Regions from separate parts of the Homo sapiens genome. Here regions 1, 3 and 4 are each linked to region 2. The links are contacts of gene promoters, found by promoter capture Hi-C in blood cells and fetal thymus (Javierre and others, 2016). All regions are on one chromosome and are shown on one strand. The core of a region is centred on a gene start or on the middle of the fragment in contact, and the rest is flanking DNA. Distances in the headings are between cores, read along the strand shown. Region 1 has its middle 6.6 kb from the start of DNMT3L. Region 2 holds the start of GATD3 (glutamine amidotransferase class 1 domain containing 3). Region 3 holds the start of AIRE (autoimmune regulator). Region 4 overlaps CFAP410 (cilia and flagella associated protein 410).

Evidence for each region. The method cuts DNA at HindIII sites, captures the fragments that hold promoters and counts their contacts. A CHiCAGO score of 5 or more calls a contact.
Region 1: a contact is called between a fragment that was not itself captured here and the fragment with the promoter of GATD3 in region 2, in 9 of 17 cell types (monocytes, M0 macrophages, total B cells and 6 more). The highest score is 10.9, in monocytes.
Region 3: the fragment with the promoter of AIRE here is called in contact with the fragment with the promoter of GATD3 in region 2 in 4 of 17 cell types (M1 macrophages, endothelial precursors, M2 macrophages and 1 more); the score reaches 7.6 in M1 macrophages.
Region 4: a contact is called between a fragment that was not itself captured here and the fragment with the promoter of GATD3 in region 2, in 17 of 17 cell types (naive B cells, total B cells, M1 macrophages and 14 more). The highest score is 14.0, in naive B cells.

What each region holds. Positions count from the first base shown.
Region 1 is chr21:44,265,299-44,271,713 of GRCh38, reverse strand. No RefSeq gene overlaps it. Among named protein-coding and RNA genes, the nearest start is that of DNMT3L, 6.6 kb to the right of the region's middle. RefSeq lists enhancers at 1-405, 4,419-5,048, 5,049-5,678. The HindIII fragment of the contact is 1,921 bases long and covers 3,249-5,169 here.
Region 2 is chr21:44,132,249-44,139,089 of GRCh38, reverse strand. GATD3 (glutamine amidotransferase class 1 domain containing 3) reads right to left here and starts at 5,407. Exons shown (of 7, transcript NM_004649.8): 1 at 5,252-5,407; 2 at 4,936-4,988; 3 at 2,917-3,030; 4 at 1,794-1,913. The coding sequence starts at 5,392. RefSeq lists a silencer at 882-1,031 and enhancers at 4,324-4,851, 4,852-5,379, 5,380-5,907. The HindIII fragment of the contact is 13,325 bases long and covers 1-6,749 here.
Region 3 is chr21:44,281,085-44,287,164 of GRCh38, reverse strand. AIRE (autoimmune regulator) reads right to left here and starts at 1,289. Exons shown (of 14, transcript NM_000383.4): 1 at 1,027-1,289; 2 at 434-608; 3 at 32-187. The coding sequence starts at 1,158. RefSeq lists enhancers at 1,810-2,411, 2,412-3,015, 3,016-3,617, 3,618-4,221, 4,638-4,717. The HindIII fragment of the contact is 40,453 bases long and covers 1-6,080 here.
Region 4 is chr21:44,335,478-44,338,690 of GRCh38, reverse strand. It overlaps CFAP410 (cilia and flagella associated protein 410), which reads left to right. Exons shown (of 7, transcript NM_004928.3): 2 at 1,024-1,042; 3 at 2,887-2,933. Among named protein-coding and RNA genes, the nearest start is that of CFAP410, 2.3 kb to the left of the region's middle. RefSeq lists a silencer at 13-132. The HindIII fragment of the contact is 2,953 bases long and covers 487-3,213 here.

The sequences.
Region 1 (6,415 bases), core at 2,960-5,459, 130 kb before region 2:
GGTTCGGGGCTGGAAGGGAGTCCCCTGAGATTAAGAGGGAGGACAAAAGAACGGAAACTACCCAAATGTCCCTCAGTGGGGGCAGGTGAGAGACCGGGCGTCCCTCTCCGCAGATAATGGGCCAGCCAGTAACGGGAAGCCGGGACCGAGGGCTCAGACTGCGTGGGGTCCAGCGTGCCACTGTTTAATCTGTAAGCATAAGCGTGGCTTCAGTTGTAGACACATGCATAGATTCATTCTGATGTTAAAATAGGAACTAGGCCGGGCACAGTGACTCACACCTGTGATCCCAGCACTTTGGGAGGCTGAAGCGGGCAGATCATCTGAGGTCAGGAGTTCGAGACCAGCCTGGCCAACATGGTGAAACCCCGTCTCTACTAAAATTACAAAAATTAGCCGGGCATGGTGGCAGGTGCCTGTAATCCCAGCTACTCAGGAGGCTGAGGCAGGAGAATCGCTGGAACCCAGGAGGCGGAGGTTGCAGTGAGCCAAGACCGTGTCATTGCACTTCCAGCCTGGGCGACAGAGCAAGACTCCGTCTCAAAAAAAAAAAAAAGAGAAGAAAAGAAAAGAAAGAAAAGGGAAATAAAATATAATGGAAAAATATTCACAATACCAGTGAATACTCACTTTTTTTTTTTTTTTTGAGACAGAGTCTTGCTCTGTCCTACAGGCTGGAGTGCAGTGGTGCGATCTCAGCTCACTGCAACCTTTGCCTCCCAGGTTCAAACAATTCTCATGCCTCACCACACGAGTAGCTGGGATTACAAGCATGTGTCACCATGCCCGGCTAATTTTTGTATTTTTAGTGGAGACAGGGTTTTGCCATGTTGGTTAAGCTGGTCTCTAACTCCTGGGCCCGAGTATCTGCCCACCCAGGTGCTGGGATTATAGGCGTGAGCCACTGCACCCTGCTGTAAGTACTCAACATTTTTTAAAAAGAGGAAAGAGACTGGGCGCGGTGGCTCTCGCCTGTAATCCCAACACTTTGGGAGGCCAAGGTGGGGGGATCACCTGAGGTCAGGAGTTTGAGATCAGCCTGACCAACATGGAGAAACCCCATCTCTACTAAAAATACAAAAAATTAGCTGGGCATGGTGGTGCATGCCTGTAATTCCAGCTACTCGGGAGGCTGAGGCAGGAGAATCGCTTGAACTCGGGAGGTGGAGGTTGCGGTGAGCCGAGATCGTGCCATTGCACTCCAGCCTGGGCAGCAAGAACGAAACTCCGTCTCAAAAAAAAAAGAGGAAAGAGGCCGGGTACAGTGGCTCACGCCTGTAATCCCAGCACTTTGGCAGGCCGAGGCAGGCGGATCACCTGAGGTCAGGAGTTCGAGACCAGCCTCAACATGGAGAAACTCCGTCTCTACTAAAAGAAATACAAAATTAGCCAGGCGTGGTGGTGCATGCCTGTAATCCCAGCTACTTGGGAGGCTGAGGCAGGAGAATTGCTTGAACCTGGGAGGCGGAAGTTGTAGTGAGCCGAGATCACGCCATTGCACTCCAGCCTGGGCAACGAGAGCTAAACTCCGTCTCAAAAAAAAAAAAAAAAAGAAAGAGGAAAGAAATGGAAAGATACATCATGTTCCTAGATTTAACTTTTTTTTTTTTTTTTTGGCAAGGTCTCACTCTGTCACCCAGGCTGGAGTGCAGTGGTGAGACCACGGCTCACTGCAGCCTCGAACTCCTAGACTCAGTGATCCTCCCACCTCATTTTGGGTAGAGATGGGGTCTTGCTATGTTGCCCAAGCTGGTCTCCAACTCTTGGCCTCAAGAAATCCTTCAGCTCAGCCTCCTAAAGCACTGGGATTACAGGTGTGAGCCCCTGTGTGTGCCTGGATTTAATTTTTTTTTTTTTTTTGAGACGAAGTTTTGCTCTTGTTGCCCAGGCTGGAGTGCAATGGCGCAATCTTGGCTCACTGCAACCTCTGCCTCCCAGGTTCAAGCAATTCTTCTGCCTCAGCCTCTCAGGTAACTGGGACTACAGGTGCCCACCACCACGCCCAGCTAATTTTTGTATTTTTAGTAGAGATGGGGTTTCACCACGTTGGCCAGGCTGGTCTCAAACTCCTGACCTCAGGTGATCCATCTGCCTCGGCTTCCCAAAATGCTCAGATTACATGCGTGAGCCACGGTGCCCGGCCTGGATTTAACTTCTTAATAGTATTTTTACAAGTCAGTTCTTCCTTAATTAGTGTGTAAATCTAATACCATTCATTCCAATCAAATTACCAATGGGATTTTTCAAAGAACTTGATTTAATGTTCTTGTGGAAGGTGAGTGAACACGAGACAAGACACTTCTGAAGACTGTCACACGGCGCGGGGTGTTTAAACATGGTATAAAGCTACAGCCAGCGTGGCAGGAGCTCCAAGGCAGAAACTGACACACCCCTGGAGAGAAATGCAAAGCCTGAGACCCAGGCACTCAGAGAGGCAGGTGATTGACACACGGTTTTGAATGCATCAGGGAATGGAGGGCGTATTCAAAAGTGATCTTGAGAGAACTGGATAGTAATTCGCAAAAGCCATGGCAAACACTAAAATTATTCCAATTAGAATTAATACATAAAATGACTTAAATGAAGACATGAAATGATGAAATGGAAAAAATGAAATAAAATATCCAAAGAAAATAAAGGTGCATGCTTATACCATCTTGGGGTGAAGAGGAACTTTTTAAATATGTTAGGAAGAATGGAAATCTAAAAAAAGACTCGTAGACAGGGCCAAGCGCAGTGGCTCACACCTGTAATCCCAGCACTTTGGTAGGCCGAGGTGGGCAGATCACGAGGTCAGGAGTTGGAGACCAGCCTGACCAACATGGTGAAACCCTGTCTCTACTAAAAATACAAAAAAAAAACCAGCTTGGCATGGTGGCACGTGCCGGGAATCCCAGCTACTCGGGAGGCTGAGCCAGGAGAACTGCTTGAACCCAGGAGGCGGATGTTGCAGTGAGCAGAGATCATGCCATTGCACTCTATCCTGGGCAACAGAGCGGGACTCCTTCTCAAAAAAAAAAAAAAAGACTCATGGACCTGACTAAATGATAATGTAATATGCTTGCATAGAAAAATGCCATTAAACATTAAAATAGATTAACAAGCTGAAGAAAATATTTGTGACTTATGTATACGAGGATTATATGAGTCAATATCTTTAATATATAAAGAGGCTTTCAAATTAATAAGAAAAAAACAAGCAAGGGTTACAAAGAAAATGAAAGGAACAGAGAAGAGAGACTTAAGCTTTGCCAGAGATTTCATGTCATAGTTCAGTAGCATTGGGGGCTGCACAATCCAGCACCATTTCACTGTTCCCACTTTGCAGCTTTTGAATATTGAGCTATGAAAGTATGTGACATATGCGAACATCATAAAACTCGTGTTTTCCAGAACACAATTTCGTACATGGCTTTTATAAATGTACCATAAAGGAAATTTCCTTTACTTAGTAGGTTTGGGGGAAATGGTGGATAATTTAACGGGTGAAGCAGATGTAGTATTTCGGGATTCTCAGACTCTAATACAAAGGTGCCAACTGTGACCACAGCGTGTCCCTGACTATCTGACCGTGTTCACCGTGGCAGCTCTGGACCGGGCTCGGCTAGGAGCGCTGTGGTTCTTCAATGGGGAGCCTCAGTGAACCCCAACTATGGCCCGGGAAGAGGCTTCACGCACCCCTTTCAGCCAGGAGAGGGGGATATTCGGTCATTTTTGTGGGTGGCCCCGGGACCTTGTTTTTGTGGGAGCCACGATTTGGAAGTGGCCTTATTTTTTCACTCGTTTTATTATTGTCCCGAACAGCCTTGTCTGAGGCCTGCTCTGTGAGGCTGCTGACGTCTGCAGGAGAGAACCAGGACCTCACTGTGGGCGCTGGGCCCACTCCCAGGCTTGTCTTTCTCAATATTAAAGCATCAGCTTCATCCAAGGTTGAGAGAGCCGCAGGCCTGGGTGTGGCGCTGGAGAGCAGTCTGGGGACCCATGGGCCCTGGGGCGCCTTGCAGTCCTCTCTAGATCAGGAGACGCAAGAGCTCACGCCACCTCTAACTCCAGCGGCACTTTGTCTTCAGGAGAAAAATGAATGTTTGCTCATTCGTTCATTCACTCCACAAACACAAAACGTATCACCCCCCACCCCACTACAGCTGTGACTCGATGTGGCCACTGAATGTGGAGGGGTCACCACGTCCCCTTCGCCTGCCGTGATCACCACCTCAGTCTGCCCCTCAGAGGCCCAAGGACATGAGTGTGTCTCCAGATGCTGGGCTTTGGCTCCTGCTGTCTATAGATTGATCAAGCAGAGGTGAGACAGTGTCTTCCGCACCATGGGCTGGAGGGCAGAGGGCACACGGTATGGGGTCCCCGGGGCTCCCCAGCCCCCAGCGGGCCATCGGCGCCAGTCCTCGCACTATCACGGGCTCCTGGAGAGAAGATGGTTTGCACGGTCTTCCCACTTCTGGAGTGCGATTTCCCACATGGGTGTTTTCTGAAAGTTTCCCGTGCCATTTATAAATGCACCATCAAGGGAAGGCTCTCTGCAGAAGCAGCTTTGGAAGAGATGGGGGCTTCCATTGATTAAGGGTGTCTGTCCTATGTGCTTCTCAGAAACTTCACGCAGGGATGTAAATCACAACCCTCCAAGCAGGTGAGGGGCAGACAGTGTGTCCCAAACAATCTGACTATGCACCCTGTTCCCAAGCACACTCATGACAGTGCCTTCTGGAGGGTGGGAGAAGCGGCAGCCCCTGCTGGGGTCCAGTGCATTGGCCATCAGGTCTGGGTGAGGCTTCAGTGACCACCCCCAGGCTCCTGGGGCTTCCACAGTGGAGGCTGCCATCCTGTCCTTTCTTCCTGACCCTCATGGCCCTGGCTGTATGTGGCCACCCCGGGTCCAGCTGGGCCCAGGCCAAGGCCAGGTTGAGTCACAGGGGCCTTTCCAGACCCCTAGGGTCAACAGCATCAGAAATCATCGTGTAGGCTGGGCTTAGTGGCTCACGCTTGTAATCCCAGCACTTTGGGAGGCCGAGGCGGGTGGATCACGAGGTCAGGAGATCGAGACCATACTGGCTAACACGGTGAAACCCCGTCTCTACTAAAAATACAAAAAAATTATCCAGGCGTGGTGGCGGGCGCCTGTAGTCCCAGCTACTTGGGAGAATGTCGTAAGCTTGCAGTGAGTGGAGATGCGCCACTGCACTCCAGCCTGGGTGATAGAGTGAGACTCCGTCTCAAAAAAAAAAAAAAGAGAAATCAATGTGTAGTGAGCTGTGGGTCACCCCATCAAGCCAGCACACGGGTGGCTTCCAGGCTGGAGAGGACATGGGAGCTCATGCAGAAGGAAGACTCCAGATGCATCCATGAGTGCCAGGAAGGGGCAGCCACACAGCGGGGACTGTGCTCCACCAGCCCCCGTAGCCCTGCTTGGGGAGCTTTAAGGCCCACCCTGCCACGTTTGCGTCCTTGGGGCTTTCTGGGGCATGGAGAGTGAGGCCAGAGGTCCCCCAGTGACCAGCACCTGTGGTCCGCATGCTGGTGGGTATATCACAGGGGCCGATGCCAGTGGTGGCCTCAGGGACTGAGCTCCCAGAGAGCTCCCCATGAGAGGCCAGCTTTTCTGGGGCCCATCTGTAGAGCACCGGGCCTCTCTCCTGCTGAGACCGCTCTGGTCTCTGCTGAGCAGCAGTGGGGTGCACGGGGACTGGGGGCTCTGATGGATGCGAGGGGCTTCCTGTCCTGTGGCCTACGCCAGGGCACCCGCCCTGGACAGAACCTTCCTTTACTGCAGGAGGTTCTGGGGTGTGAAGTTAGAAAACTGCCCTTCCGGAAGCCGGGCGCAGTGGCTCACACCTGTAATCCCAGCACCTTGGGAGGCCGAGGCAGGCGGGTTACCTGAGGTCAGGAGGTCGAGACCAGCCTGGCCAACAGGGTGAAACCCCGTCTCTACTAAAAATACAAAAAATGCTGGGTGTGGTGGCATGCACCTGTAATCCCAGATACTAGGGAGGCTGAGGCAAGAGAGTTGCTTGAACCCGGGAGGCGGAGGTTGCAGTGAGCTGAAATTGCTACTGTACTCCAGCCTGGGCCACAGAGCGAGACTCTATCTCCAAAAAAAAAAAAAAAAAGAAAAGAAAAGAAAAAAAGAAAAAAGAAAACTGCCCTTCCAGGATAACTTGAGGTCAGGAGTTCGAGACCAGACTGGCCAACATAGTGAACCCCGTCTCCACTAAAAATACAAAAATTAGCCAGGCAGCCGGGGCGAGGTGGCTCACACCTGTAATCCCAGCACTTTGAGAGGCTGAGGCGGGTGGATCATGAAGTCAGGAGTTTGAGACCAGCCTGGCCAACATGGTGAAATCTTGTCTCTACTAAAAATACAAAAATTAGCCATGCGTGGTAGTGCACGCCTGTAACCCCA
Region 2 (6,841 bases), core at 4,158-6,657:
GGGTGTTCGCCGTCCCCATGGGTGACTGTCTCAGAGGGTGCAGAGTGGCCACGGCTGCAGCTCATTAGAGCGCGCCGCACCATGGACACGCAGGGCAGGCTCACCCAGAACGCTCTGGACAGGTCAGTGAAAATGGGAGCTTCGCCCAGGGGACGTGGGCTCAGACACACGGGCACATCAGTCCCAGGGCCCATCAACACCTTGAAAGCCAAGGCCAAGACCCACTGACCCTGAGAACCACCACACACCTCACGCCTGTGCCTCTGGGTTGGCAAAATGTGGAGGAGCCATGCCAGGGCACGGAGCCCCCAGCACACCCTCCAGCTGCCCCTGCGCCCCGCCACACACGGTGTCAGTGGTCAGAGCCTCGTGGAGACGGCAGCGACGCAGGGACAACTGGACAAAAGATCGAGCCTGACGTGGGGCTGCGTGAGGTCAGGGGTGTGGGCGGCACCGACGAGGCTTGCTGGCTTTCAGGAGACCGGGGACGACAGGCTGGGGTGGGGCTTCCGGTGAGAGAGGGGTGAGGGCACGGCCAAGGGCACTGAGAAAACAGCTGGCATCTGAGGAAGGAGGCCTCTGAGGTTTCGGGATAAGGAGGGGCGCATTCTTCGGATGGAGACTGCCTACCCCTCGACTCTGGGTGCAGGCTGCCCAGGGTGGGGCAAGCGGCCAGCCAGCCTCCAACCTGCCCTTGAAACAGGAGCTGCCGACCGGGGCCGGCCGTGCTGGGGCTGCCACCCACACCATGGCACAGAAGCCACCTGCACGCTCCGATGCACTGTGGCCAGTGCTCCTGCAGGTGGCAGAGCTGTCCCTGGAGGGTCAGCCTGGCACCACCTCCACCTCTCAGGCAGGGCCATGGGGGCGGTGCCCAGAGAACCTCCATGAATGTGCAAAGAGAGAGAGGAGACACAGAGAACAGAAAGAGGATCTGGAACTCAAGGACGCCACCGTGTGGGAGCCAGCCAGGCCTCCATGATTCACGGTCCAGCTACCAAAACAGCCACGCCAAGGCGGCCTCCCTTCTTCCTGTCAGGACCGCCGCCCAAACTACCAAGAAGGAAACCCATTTCTGATCCTGCAAGGTTCCATAAGAGAATTGGGGCCAGGCGCGGTGGCTCAGGCCTGGAATCCCAGCACTTTGGGAGGCAGGAGGGTTACTCGAGCCCAGAAGTTCCAGACCAATTTGGGCTACATACATGGCCAAAAAAAAAAAAAAACAAAACCATGGGCATGGTGACATGCGCCTATAGTCTCGGCTACTCAGGAGGATGAGGCTGGAGGATGGCTTGAGCCCAGGAGATCATGGCTGCAGTGAACTAGGATCGTGCCACTGCATCCCTGCCTGGGCAACAGACCAAGACCTCATCTCTACAGAAAAAAAAAAAAAAAAAGAGAGAGAGAGAGAAAAAAAACTGGCACTTGCAAGGAGTAAATACTCAGAGACTGATTTCAACGTGACGAGACCTACAGCACAGTGATGAGATAAGAGGGAGCCCCAAACCCACTCTGACAAGCTGCTGGGTACCAGGAATGCTGAGAGAAGAGGCAGCAGAGAAGCAGAAACAAAAGCATGGCTCGCTACAACGCTACCTAAGACCCAACCCTAAGAACAGCTCCCAAGTCAGAGGGCAGGCACGTGCCCTGCCCAGACCCTAAACCCAGAGACTGCTCCTATCACCACCCCCTCCCATCGCCGCTCCACTGACCACATTGGACAGCAGACAGGTGCACCCCCTTCCCATCTGCTCCACATGGAAAGCGGAAGACCTTGGAGCTCAAATACGCACAGGTTTTTAGCCGCTCCAAAGCCTCCTGGAAAGATGGCAGCATCATGGTTGGCTGCACTGAGGTTGGCCAGGTCTGTGATTTTGCCACGGGCGATCCTCGCAGACTCGGTCAAAACATTCCTGGGAAAGAGCACAGGGCAAAAAGCCTCAGCATGCAGGTGAAGGACTGTGGAGCGCGGCAGGGGCACAGCCCACAGGCAACACGCTCCACACACGTGGCTCTCAGCCACACGGGGACTTACTTCCAGGTCAGCATGTTTGGTCACTACCTGGAAAGACAACATGGTTCTAGCAACGCTAAATCTATGCTGGGCTCTTCCGATCAGCACTTCAGAACCTGCGCCAAATCACTCTGAATCTTCTGCAGTCAAGGCCCATGGGAAATGGAAGTCTCTCCGAGTGTCTAAAGCAGACAGAATTCTGTGCACTCATCAGGACGGTGGGACTCAGAGGGGAAGGTAAGAAGCCAGGACTCAGGACCAGTGAAGCAACCCGAAGGCCAGCCACCGCAGGAAGCTGCTAGCCCCCAGGTGTGGGGGCCGAAGGTGCAAGTCCAGGTGCAGAAGCCAGGGTCCCAGGCAGGAAAAGAAATCACAGGGGTCCCCACTGGTGAGAAGCACAGCCCCAGGAGGCAGCTATGGCTTCTTCCTCGAATCTCCAGCTCCGACCTCTCGTGGTCCGAGGCCAGTTGGAAGGCACCTTGGAATGGCCTGCACAGGGCTGTCAGGCAGGACAGGCAAGGGAAGGGGATCTCAGGCCACACAGGCCAGAACCACACACACCGCAGTAACAGACATGCTGCTGGGAACCAGCAAAACAGATCTGGAGCCCAGACAGGGGAAGAAGGTGGGCGACCAAGCTGAGAACCACCACCTTTGCTTAAGACCAAGGTATGAGCAGCCTGACTCAGTGGGAAGCGATCCGGTCGCCATTTTCAGTCCTTCTGTGAGTACTGGAAGGAAGGCACTCCTGAGCCTTGGCAGCATTACTTCTGGAACAGCCCGAGCACAGCTGCTCAGAAGGACGTTCATTTGCACACAAGACTTGGTTTAAGCTAAGCCAGCAAAAAAAGGCTGCACCGTGGGAGGTAGACAAGAAGCAAGTTCCAATCCCACCCCCACACCTGCTCTCGCCTTCGGACGGCTGCCCCTTGGTGTGGTCAATCACGTGCATCTGAGGGACGTCAGGAGCAAAGATCTGGACTTCAGCCCCTCCACGGCTCAGGTGCACCAGGATCCTGCACGGGGGAAAACCAGAGACAACTCTTCAAAACGTGCCCCACTCAGATTTGTGTTAACACATTTTTAAAAACAGGATTTTAGCTAAGTACCAGGAGCAAATTCCTAATGTATATTAATATCTTACTTGCTCTGCAAAAAGTTACAGTTGGTTCCATACCAAGCCAAACGTCCCCCACACCCCCATTCCAATTCACTGTCGGTTGGTGGGTTACGACTATGACAAACCCTCAGAAGTGGGCTATGGAGATCAGCTGGTCCCAACAGCTCCCTTTGCAAACTGGGGTATGGGGGCCGGGTGACTCCACTGAGGGCACAGCCTGGAGGCGTGCGGGTCCCCGGCTGCTGAGTGCTCTACCTACACCCAGGGCCTGGCTGCCCTCCTCCAGTTGCTTGCTGCAAGCACCAAGAGTGAGAAGCAGCAGTGTGCTCAGAGTGCCACGTGCACAGACGGTGTGACGGGGCTTTCGGTCACTACTTAGTTCAATTTCTAGTCTCCCTCAACTTTCCCATCACAGATGGTGGGAGAGACACAAGAGACCCCAGGACAACACCACAGGCCAGGCAGCTCCATCTCCCCAAGGGCAAGGGCAACAGAAGCTCCTCCTGGGGACAACAGCTGACATTATGGGGGCTCACGCTGGCATCCGCAACTCCCAGTGCCAACAGGAGATAGGTGGCTAAGCCCACCCACACACTAAGCCCTCACTGCCCCTTACGTGGAGGAGGAAACCGAGGCATGAAGTGCAGTGACTTGCCAGAGGGAGAGGTCAGCACCTGGCCCTGGCACTTGGGTTCCGCTACCCATAAGAAATCCACCCAGACACCCCAGACACAAGACCCTGCCGTTCTGCCTGGGAGGGCTCAAGCTATTCTGGGGCTATTTTCTATCCCACCAAGGCCAAATCATGAAACACATCCTGGCCCTTTCCCCCAGCTCACTCTGCCTAGTGCCAACTCCAACCAGCCAAGGTGGGCCACCCACAAAGCCACCAGCCTCAGGCCACTCTCCATGGCCTGACACCCCTTTCGCCACCACCCAGCTCTCCCCTCTCCAGTTCACCCTGAACCACATGGGAACTACAGGTACCTGGCACGCGTGGTGGCCTCCTGCCCTACTGGTTCGGCCTGCAGTCATTTCCAGTAGCACAGGAAATCAGGCCACCAAGCACTCAGCAACAGCTGACCAGTTACGTAAACAGTAACCTGTCTAGGACCCAGAAATACCACGCAACTGTTAAAATGATGTTGAGAACTGAATGAATGGGAATTACTTCCCATGCGTCAGAAACATTTGCAAAACACGGGTGAGTGTGATCTCAGTGTTTTCAAAATGTGTGTGTCCTGAAAAACACTCAAGTGAAATGCTAAGTCATTTCTAGGCTCTAGGTGACAGCATAAGCGACACTTAAAAACTGTTCTTTCTTAGCGTCTCCCTGGGTTTTGCAAGTCGTTTTTGCTTTTTTTTAGCCAAGAATAGGGTATTTAAAATACAAGCTCTCTCGGCCGGGTGCAGTGGCTCATGCCTGTAATCCCAGCACTTTGGGAGGCCAAAGCGGGAGGATCACTTGAGGTCAGGAGTTTGAGACCAGCCTGGCCAACATGGTGAAACTCCGTATCTACCAAAAATACACAAATTAGTTGGGTGTGGTGGTGCATGCTTGTAGTCCCAGCTACTCGGAAGGCTGAGGCAGGAGAATCGCTTGAACCCAGGAGGCGGAGGCCGCAGTGAGCCAAGATCGCGCCATTGCACTCCAGACTGGGCGCTGTCTCAAAAGACAAAAAGTAAAAATAAAATAAAATACATGCTTTCTCTAAGCTGTTCAAAAAAGAGTAAACTTCACTGGTGGAGAGGCCTTCTCGAGGCCCCCGGGGTGGAGGACCAGCTGCCCCTGAGGACTTACGCCGAGGCCTCGTGGATCTCGGTCCCATCGTAGACTCCGCATCCAGACAGCACCTGCGAGAGGAGCGGGAGCTGACCCGGGGGAAAGGGGCCGACCTGGGCGGCGGGAGTTGACTGGGGGGAAAGGGGCCGACCTGGGCCGCGGGCGCTGACCCGGGAAAATGGGGCCGACCTGGGCCGCAGGAGCTGACTTGGGGTGAAGGAGCCGACGTGGGGCGGCGGGAGCGGACCTAGGAAGAGGGGCCGACCTTGGGCAGAGAACAGCGAAGGCTGATCTCTGGAGGCGGGAGCTGACCTCACCCCCTCCGTCCACTCACCAGCGCGACCCTGGCCGCGGGGCGCGGCACGGAGAGGTGAAGGGCTGCGCGCTGGGAAGGCGTCCGACCGCCGGGGGACAGGGACGTGAATGCAGATGCCGCAGCGAGCCTCGAGGCCACCAGGACCCTCACAGCCGCCATTGCGGTGAGGACAGCGGGGTCGGAAGGTCACGCAGGGACAGAGCGTGCGCACCCACCCCTCTACAAACGCGTTGCTCGTCGGGACTGCGCCTGCGCAGCCTTCTGGGCGGAGCCAAGACCCGCCCCCGTCTCAGCCCTATCCAGTGAGTTCGCCGGTGGGCGGGGGCCGCGCCTGCGCAGAGCCTCCGAATAGAGTTCCGGGAACCCTGTCTTCCTTCCGGTGGTGGCTGAGGGCTCGTGCTCGAGGCTGAGGGATGCTGGTGACTCCCGGGGTCCCCAGCCCCGCCCCCATCGGACGCCTCCACAGGCGGCGCACCCTTTCCGCCATCCGCAGAGCAAGGCTGCCTCGGGGCGGCTCAGTCCGGCGCTTCTTACCTTACCTCCGTCTCATCCTTAACTCACCACGAGCGTCCAGGGTCCACATCCTCCTAAATGGCCACTCGTCTTAATCTCGGCGTCAGGACCCACGCGGGGTCAGGACTACCCCTCCGCTTCCATGACTGTCTCCTCGCGGCTCCGGCTCCCACGGAGCGACCCCTCCGGGTTTTACTGACCCCGGGATGTTGTATCCTGGAAACTGCAGTTCCACCCAGGGGCTTGATCTGGGTTAGTCTGGGGGCAAGTGAGCCGCCGATTCTGTTTGGGTTTTTTTTTTTTTTTTTTTGAGACGGAGTTTCCCTCTTGTTGCCCGGGCTGGAGTGCAATGGCGCGAAGTCGGCTCAACGCAACCTCCGCCTCCCAGGTTCAAGCGACTCTTCTGCCTCAGCCTCCCAAGTAGCTGGGACTACAGGCATGCGCCACCACGCCAGGCTAATTTTGTATTTTTAGTAGAGACGGGGTTTCTCCATGTTGGTCTGGCTGGTCTTGAACTCCCGAGCTCAGGTGATCTGCCCGCCTCGGACTCCCAAAGTGCTGGGATTACAGGCGTGAGCCACCATTCCCGGGCGCTGTTTGGGTTTGTTTTTTTGTTTTTGTTTTTTACGTTCACAGCATGGACGGTCAGTGTGAAGATCCCAGCTGCTCGGGTCCTAGCTGGAATTCTTCCATTAAAAAAATCTGTTTGTTATGCATGGGTTAGTTCACAGAGGAATAGCTGGATAAGTGCTGGCTTTTTCCCCGATTTACCCATTTTCAACCTAATAATGCAGGTTTTTGAAATAATGTGAATGGTTACTGCTGGCGGATGTTCACAGGGACACACCGGATTCTACAGACACATCTGATGATCTAGCCACGGCTGTCACTTTCCCCACTGCCGCGTTGTCCATCACTAGGACTTTACTGCCAATCCTTGCAAGATAGTGGGGAACTAGAATAACAGACATGGGACATTACCAGTTACAACCAAAGACAAGCTTGGCACATTTGACTGTCCTCGTTCCTGCTCCTCCGTGCCTGGCCCTCTTCAGGCTTCTCAGCTCCTGGGGAGCGGCCAGCCAGGGAGCATCA
Region 3 (6,080 bases), core at 40-2,539, 150 kb before region 2:
CCCTGGCTGGCTTCCCCTGCAGGGAGGGTACCTGGGCTGGCGGTGCCCCTTGGAGTCAGGGCTGCTGGCGCGGCAGCTCGAGCCTCTTCTGAGGCCTTCCTCTTGGTGGGGAGTCTGGGTGGCGGTACCAAAGCCTTGGGGACGGCCGGGGGCTTCCTCCCCTTCCGGGGCTGGCTGAGGTCCACATCTGCAGCTCAGGGGCAGGAGCAGGGTCCCAACCTCAGGGTTTTCTCCAGGGGTAGGGTGGGCCCCAGAACTGGACACCTTGGCCAGACAGGTGAGGCCTGGCCCCTTTGCCTCTTAGGATCCAAGACGGTCCTGGAACATCACCCACGGGCTCCTCAAACACCACTCCGGTTCCAGTCCAGCTGGGCTGAGCAGGTGACAGCAGCTGCCCCAGGCCCCCAGCATGGCTGAGTCCACCAGGACCCACCTTTGGGGAAGCTGTCCAGGATGGGCTGCAGCCGGCCATAGCGCTCCAGGTTGTAGTCCTTGAACAGCACCCTCCAGAAGTCCAGGATGGCTGTGGAGTCCTGGGTCAGCAGCCAGGACAGGAGGGCGTGGAAGGCCTGGGGGCAGCCCTCCTTTTCCTTCAGATGAAGCGTCTCCTGCAGTGGGGTGGCATGAGGGTCCCTGCCATGGTCCCCCACACCCTGCGGCCTGCCCATCTCCATCATGACTAGAGGGTGGAGCTCCCAGGCAGAGGCGCTGGCGACCTGGACAGCTCCACGCCCATCTCCTCGGCTTGTGGTGGAGTCAGGTGGTGGTGTAGGGGTGTTGAGGGTGGGGCTGGGGGAACCTGGAGGCCATTCCCTTGGCTTGGGGGTGAGGTGTGGGGACGGCTGGGGGAAGGGGACCAACTTCTAACTTGTCATCAGGGACGCCCCTGGCTCCTTGTGGGGAGGGAGTTGGGGAAGGCTGGAGGGGCTTGGGGATCTGGAGGGGCGGGGTCCTCCTGGAACTTCCCCGGGGACTATCCCTGGCTCACAGGGCCTGGGGGCAGCGGGGGGCGGGCGGGGAGCCCACCTGAAACTTGTCCTCGGGGACCACGTCGTGGTCAGCCAGCGCGTGCAGCAGTGGGAAGGCGCTGTCCACGGCCACCGCGATCTCCGTGCGGTGCAGCCTCAGAAGCCGGCGTAGCGCCGCGTCCGTCGCCATGGGGTGGGCGCGGGGACCCGGGGCTGGGGCGGACGCGGTGGGTCCCGGGACACTGGCAGCCCCTCGCTTGGCCTCGGGTCCCGGCGGGGCTGTGGGGCCTCCGCGCCGGCTGTGCGCCCGCCCGTCTCCCCGGTCTGCGAGCCACGCGCGCCGCTGTTATACCCCCGCGACCACGCAAAGAGCAAAGGCCGCTCCGCCCCGGCGCCCAATCAGGGCCAGGGCCTCCCGCAGGGACACTTCCCTGTGATGGAGGCGCTGCTGTCCCTCCCTCGCTCTCGGGAAGTCTCCGGGCCTGGCCTGACTCACCCACCAGGGCAGCTGCCTTGGGGGCTGGGGACAGAGACTCGCTCTGTGCGGGACTCAGAGAACTCTCACTTCCGAATGTGGCCCTGTCCTGCCTCGGCGAGGGCCCTGCTCGAATGGGGCAAAGCCGAGACAGGTGCCCTCGGCGGGGAGGCTCGGGTCTCAGGGCCCTGGCAGGGGCTGCCCAGGGTGCACCGGCCCCTCCCAGTGGCCGGCAAGAGCCTCCATGGAGGCTGGATCGGGGTGGTGTTCCTGGGGGACCTCCACACAAGCTGAGAGCCCCTACTCAGGGGCCCGCCTGGGGCTGTGGGAGGAGCCCGATGGAGGCTCAGTCTGATGCAGGAGACGGTACGGCAGCCTGGGTGTTGCCAGGGAGCTCCTGACCTCACCATCTTAGGCTAGCTGTGTGACGCCAGGCAAGTCCTTTCCTTCTCTGAGCCTCGGTTCCCTCATCTTTAAAAGGGGCACACTCGCCTGGGGATTGAGGCTCGCATTGACCCCCTCCTTCCTTCCTCCAGGTGCTTTAGAAGGAAGGCGGCCAGCCCCACAACGGGGGTCCTGAGTGTGGCCCTGAGTGAGAGCTCCCAAAGGGTCTTCCTAGGACCAGTGACAGAGGCTGAGGGATGCTGTGGCCTGGACAGGAGCTTCCGGGGGCATCTGGGAAGGTGTCCGGGAGGGGAGCTGCAGTGGACAGGAGCCGAGGGTCCCAGGTGGACGTGAGTGGGGACAGTGCCCCCAGTAAAACAAGACCAGGTGCAGAGGCCTGGGGCCTGCAATGATGCTGAGGCTGTGGTGGCCCCGCAGGCATGGCCTGGAGGGGGGGTGGCCTCAGTGGGAGGCCTTGGTAACAGTCCCCTTGTCTGTGCGGTCAAGCCAGGGAAGCAGGCCCTGTGTGCAGGCTGCAGAGAACCACGAGAGGTCTCTGGGCACGAGTGTTCCCACTGAGCCAGAGAACGAGATGACCTGGCCAGCATGGATTAGGGCTGAAGGGTGGACGAAGGTACCAGGAAGCCTGAATCCAGGCAGCACTGGGCTGGGGGCTAACTGATGCAGTGAGAGACGCCACCAAGATTCCCACGTGGGCAGGCGTGCCGTTTGCTTTTGGGCAGCCAGAGTCCAGGATGGAGAGCGGCAGACACCTCTCCTCTAGACCAGGGGTCGGTCTCGGTTTCTCCTACCGCCTTCAGGCCCAGGGTCCCCCTGAGCGTTCTGCACGTCTGAGATTGCTCCGGAAAAGACTCTAGGGGTGTTTGGGAACAAACCTGGGGAGGAAGGTGGGGCCAGAGGTGGTGGCCGAGGTGGTCAGCCTGGGGTCAGGTGCTGGGGACGTCATGGGGAGCTGAGGGGGAGGGGGTCCATCTCAGTGGTGGCTGTGGAGTATCAGGCAGTGCAGGGTTGGAACAGGCTGGCTCCTGTGTGGAATGTCCTGGGAGCCTTGAGCGGGGAGCAGGGCCCTCTCGCTGCCCAGGCCTGGGCGTCTCTCACTCCCTGCACTGCGCCTTCCGAAGACCCCGAGAGGGAAGCCCCCTGCCTGCATGCCTGCCTTGCCGGTCCCCGCTCCAACAGACACATCCTGTCCCCAGCCAGGCCGGGCTGCTGCTCGCTGGGTTTCCTGCCCTCTCCCCTGCAGTTCTGTATTTACAGCAAAAATATTTAAATAACTGCAAGCGAAAGTTGCACAGAAGCCCAGCTTTGCACAGGATCCCTGTCTGCTCCTGAAACACCCCCATTCTCCTTGCTCATCCATGGGCAGGGGTCTCACGAAGGGAGAGCTCACTAACATCAAGTTCAATGGCAACCCTTGGGCCCACTGGCTGCACAGTTCATGCATAAAAGCCCCTGGGGTGCCAGGGAACCAGCGCACACAGCTTTGGGATGACCAGTAACCGTTGCTCCCAGCAACTTGGCTTTCCTCTCCTTTGAGGCTGTGGGGAAAAGAAAGAGAGATCAGATTGTTAATGTGTCTGCATAGAAAGTAGACATAAGAGACTCCATTTTAATCTGTAACCCTACCCCCAACCCTGTGCTCCCTGAGACATGTGCTGTGTCAACTCAGGGTTAAATGGATTAAGGGCTGTGCAGGGTGTGCTTTATTAAACAAATGCTTGAAGGCAGCATGCTCGTTAAGAGTCATCACCACTCCCTAATCTTAAGTACCCAGGGACACAAAACACTGCGGAAGGCCGCAGGGACCCCTGCCTAGGAAAGCCAGGTATTGTCCAAGGTTTCTCCCCATGTGATAGCCTGAGATATGGCCTCCTGGGAAGGGAAAGACCTGACCGTCCCCCAGCCCGACACCGTAAAGGGTCTGTGCTGAGGAGGATTAGTAAAAGTGGAAGGAACGCCTCGTTGCAGTTGAGACAAGAGGAAGGCATCTGTCTCCTGCCCGTCCCTGGGCAATGGAATGTCTCGGTATAAAACCCGATTGTATATTCCATCTACTGAGATAGGGGGAAACTGCCTTAGGGCTGGAGGTGGGACAAGCAGGCAGCAATACTGCTCCTTAAGGCATTGAGATGTTTATGTGTATACATATCTAAAGCACAGCACTTAATTCTTTACCTTGTTTATGATGCAGAGACCTTTGTTCACGTGCTTACCTGCTGACCTTCTCTCCACTATTATCCTATGATCCTGCCACATCCCCCTCTCCGAGAAACACCCAAAAATGATCAATAAATACTAAGGGAACTCAGAGGCCAGCGGGGGTCCTCCGTATGCTGAGCGCCGGTCCCCTGGTCCCCCAATTTCTTTCTCTATACTTTGTCTGTGTCTCTTTTCCAAGTCTCTCGTTCTACCTAACGAGAAACACCCACAGGTGTGGAGGGGCAACCCACCCCTTCAGAGGCCATCCTGCCCCAAAGTCACCCCCTGCAACCCGGTGGCTTTTCCCTCCCCAGATGGTTAAGTGAGTCAATGGATGCCTTAGCCCAGAGATGGTTAAAGGGGAATTAAAAACTGCAAAGCGAGATCCAAGTCTGCACTTCACTTTTTAAAAAAGACCTGCAGTCTTTGCGGGTCACCTGTGTCATTGGGCTGGGGCCTGACCCCTGTGGGCAGGCGTCACCCAGCCTCTTGCATGGAGGTTTAACAAAGAGGCCCCTGTAGAATTTCGGACTTTCCACCATGCCGTGGGGCTTTCCACACCAGCCCCTTGCCCGCAGGTGACATGGAGCCGCCACGGCTCCCTGGAGGTGGCACAGACCCCTGGAGGGGGGTGAGGGGCTGGGGACTCGGCCCTGTCTTCAGTGGGACTGATGCCTTTGTGGGACTGAGCCTCAGTTTCCCCAAGAGGCACCTGGGCAGCAGAGCTCTGGGACAGTATTGGGCTCCATCCCTGAGCCCCGTGTCCTCGGCTGGAGCGGGAGGGCCCCGCAGCCCTTTCTCCCACATCTGTGCTGTGCCCTTGGACGCCTGCGGACCTGCCATGCCCCGGGCTAGGCCCTGAGAGCTTTGTGATTCTGCTCACTCCATCAGCAGAACGGTCTCCTCAGGTCATCATCGTGATTAGTGCCATCCACAGATATGGAAACTGAGGCCTGTTGCCGGGAGGAGCTTGGCCAGAGTCACGCAGCTGCTAAGGGGCAGAACCACGACTCGGACCTTGATGCACGGAAGAACAGAGGTTCTCCAGGTCCATGCTCCTGCTGTGCCGGGTGCCCCTCAGGTGCCCAGGTCACGTCAGATGTTCTCAGCCTGCAAAGTGGGGGGACGCGGCCCATGTGATGTGTATAGAAGTTGGGAGGAGCCAGGTCCTAATGGCAGAGCAGGGAAGGGGCTGGAGGGGGCTCAGCCTTGGCCCCTCAAACAAGCCTGGACTCCATGCCTTCTCCCCTGCTCCAGATGGAGGTTCCATCCCCTGTGGCTCCCTGGAAGGGCCAGGCTCCCAGAGGCCAGGAGCCTGAGTCAGAAAGGCCTCGGGGAACATGGAGCCCTGGCCAGGCCTTGGCTCCTGGAGGCCCTGGGCCCTGCTCCTGCAGCCTGGCCAGGTGGTCTGGCATCAAGGGAGGGGTGGGTCCCCTCAGGACACTTTGTGAGGACCCCTAGCACCCTCCTGGCCACAGGCTTCCTCACTGGGCCTCAATTTCCTCACTGTAGAGAGGAAGTTGCCTCTACTTGTTGAGGGCGGGATGGCCATTCCACATGGTTGTCCAAGTCAGGGAGGCAGCTCCGAGCACCGGTGAGCTCAGAAGAACCCGTGCTCAGCCAAGGGCATTGGAGGGGGGACCCCCTGCCCCCTCCCCTCCTACTACTCTTGCCTCAAACCTGCCCCACTGGTTGGGCCTCAGTTTCCCTGGTCTGGCCTCTCCACTGCGTCCCACTGTGGGTATGTGTCCAGACGGCGTCACTTTTCTCAGTGAACTAGGGGAAGTGGTGCCAGATTTTTTTCTTCTTTTTTTTGAGACAGAGTCTCGCTCTGTCGCCCAGGCTGAAGTGCAGTGGCGCGATCTCGGCTCACTGCAAGCTCCGCCTCCCGGGTTCACGCCATTCTCCTGCCTCAGCCTCCCGAGTAGCTGGGACTACAGGCGCCCGCTACCACAGCAGGCTAATTTCTTTGTATTTTAGTAGAGACAGGGTTTCACTGTGTTAGCCAGGATGGTCTCGATCTCCTGACCTCA
Region 4 (3,213 bases), core at 714-3,213, 200 kb before region 2:
GGGGTCGGGGTCGCCTGGGCCCCCCCCCATTTCCCGGCCCGCCTTTGCCCCGGGTGCCCTGTGGGCTGGGTCTGTTGTCTGGGGTTGCCAGCAGTCACTGGGACCAAGTCGAATAGGAGAGAGAACTGAGCTTTCCAGGACTGAGTCAGGAAACACGTTGGTAATCAGTACTGGGGGCGGCCGTTCCCAGGGTACTCCTAGCAGGTGACAGGAAGGGACGTGGGTGCGGTGGGACCCAGGCAGGCTGAAAGGCAGGTAATGCTGAGTCTCACTGAGCCAAGGAAGACCAGGAGCTTCCAGAAGAGGGAGCCTGGAGTTGAGGCCTGCAAGATCTCCAGGGTTCCCTGGGGACTCAGCAGAGTGACCGCGCCGTGTCAACTGGCCTCACCGTGCAGGCGGGTGTGGGGGTCAGCGAGAGCAGACGCTTCCTCCCAGGGGTGTCCGCAGACTGCCCAGAGTGAGCTCTTCCCTGTTAATTAAAAAGCTTTTCTCTCTGCCCTGGCATATCTGGTGTTTTGGCTACAATTCCCGTGTCATTTGCTTTCAATAATGCATTTCTTTGTTTTGCATGGGGTGGTCAGTACTCCCACTAAGCTGGGAGAAACAACAACCCTGTTTCAGGCTTTTAAAGTTTGCTTCATAAGTTGCCTGTTCACCCTTTGAACTTGACCTCTTATAAAGACGCCCTTGTTTATGTCTGTCAGTGAGAGAAATGAACCTTCTGCTACTCAGGGACCATGAGGAAGAGTTCATCTTTTTGTGTCTTACAAATGGAGCAACCCTGCTGCTCCTTATCTAAAAAGTACCACCCCAACGTCAAACATACAGTTTAGTTGAAAATCAGCTAAAACAATTGTTTACACCTTTGCCAGTTATCTGGGCAACCTTCCTTTTTTGCCATGCCATTAAAATCCTAGAATCTTAAGGTTTGTAGGGAGTCATCGGTGATTTTTGGAATTTTTGTCTTCAGTGTTTTTTATTCAACTTTAACAAAATTAAAGTATGTATCTTTTCTCTCCCCAGGGGCAGCCGCCTCACAGATGTAAGTATTGCCTCACAGATGTAAGTATTGCACTGATCATCTCCAAATAGCCTCAACCCAAATGTTGTAGCTTCTTTCCCAAGAGAATTTTTAAGTTGACAAAACTGCACCTATCAATTCAGTCCCACACTTGGTACTTTGTTCACTTAGCGGTTTTCATTCTGCAGAACCACTAATGGAAAAACAATTCTCTAGTGCCAGGCTTATTTTGCAGTTCCCGTCAACATCCCTATAAATGAAACACCCTTTGTCACTTGGTCGCAGAGGAGGGGAGCAATAGTTTGGAACTTGCTCTCACCTGGAAAGGAATCCCAGGAGGGCTTGTTTTACTTTGTTACGGGGAAGTTGAAGGTCTACACCCCCTCTTCTTGGTCACATCTAGCCTTGTACCCCCTTGCCGCTGCCCCAAAGGCAGGCAGAGAATAAGCCCTGCTGGGAGAACTTGAGTGTGTGCGTCTGTGAAAGATTTTTTTCTTCTCTCCCTCATTGTCTTTCTCAGTCCAAAATGTCCCCAACTTACACAGGGATCGCATACCAATTGTTTCTTTCTTTTTTTTTTTTTTTTACACGGAGTCTCTCTCTGTTGCCCAGGCTGGAGTACAGTGGCACGATCTTGGCTCACTGCAACCTCTGCCTCCCGGGTTCAAGCAATTTTCCTGCCTCAGCCTTTGAGTAGCTGGGACTACAGGCACCCACCACCATGCCTGGCTAATTTTTGTACTTTTTAGTAGAGATGGAGTTTCACTGTGTCGGCCAGGCTGGTCTCAAACCCCCTGAGTTCAGGTGATCCACCTGCCTCAGCCTCGCAAAGTATTGGAATTACAGGTATGAGCCACCATGTCCAGCGCAATTATTTATCTCTTTATTTTCCTTTGTTTTTTTAATTTGAACTGTACCTTTTCTTAAAGACAAAAAAAAGCCTGGATACGTGGCATCTGGGTGTAATCTGTTTTGTGCTGTAACTGAAATACTGCATGTTTAGCAGTGAATATACAAACGTACCATGTCCATAGACACGAGTCACTTATACATGGGACGCATCTGACCAGGCTGTGAGCTGCTGGTGCCATGCCTGGCGTATGGTGGGCTCTCACATATGTGGGAGCTTTGCAGGTTGTGAGGCTTTGTGGACCACCCCGGGCACCTCACCCCTGAATTGACAGTACCAATGTGATCTGAGATCCAGTCTCAAGCCTGTCTTCCTTTTGGCCTAGACCTGTTATCAAGAAGGGATTTCCATCCTTTCCTTGCTTTCTATCCCTGCGTAGGGGACATTGGGGTCCCCTTACCTGATGTCCTTTGAGGGCATCTAAAGTAATGAATGCTCTGTCTCCACTGCTGGCAGCATCTGACAGCAACGATGCTGTCGTAAAATTTAATAAAGACAGAGTGCGTGCAAGGAGGAGCCTCACATTTCTCCTTCAGTCTGCGGGGCGTCTGGGCTGCAAGGTGGTGTCAGAGGAGAACCTGGCATACTCGTGGGCATTCATCCTGGGCACACTGGCTGAGCAGGGCCGCTCCCCTCAGGCCCTGGGCATTCACCCTGGGCACACTGGCTGAGCAGGGCCGCTCCCCTCAGGCCCTGGGCATTCACCCTGGGCACACTGGCTGAGCAGGGCCGCTCCCCTCAGGCCCTGGGCATTCACCCTGGGCACACTGGCTGAGCAGGGCCGCTCCCCTCAGGCCCTGGGCATTCACCCTGGGCACACTGGCTGAGTAAGGCCGTGCCCCTCAGGCCCCGGAAGTGGGTTGGCCGTGGCTTCGACAGTTCTCTGTGGCTGATGGCAGTGCGGCCGCGATGCCCTGCTGTGCCATGCTTGCTAGTCATGTTCTTTTCCTCCTAGATCTCCATTTGCCAGGAGATGCCCAGCCTGGAGGTGATCACGCTCAGGTACCTCGCTCCTGCTGTCATGCTCAGCCTGGGGCCTGGAAGCCGGGGCAGAGCCTCACGTCCCTCCAGTGGGACCCAGCACTGTGACATAACCTGGAAACCTCCAACACAGACTGAGGGCGGCTTCCAGAAGGGGAGGGGCCGGGACAGCGAGAGCTGGGCCTACCCTGTGGCCCCCATGTTCAGCCCTCCTTCCTCAGAGCCTCACCTGGGCCTCCTGATGGCTCCTGTCCCCTGCCTGCCCTGCTGTACGCCTGCCCACCCTTGGCCTGTGTGCTCC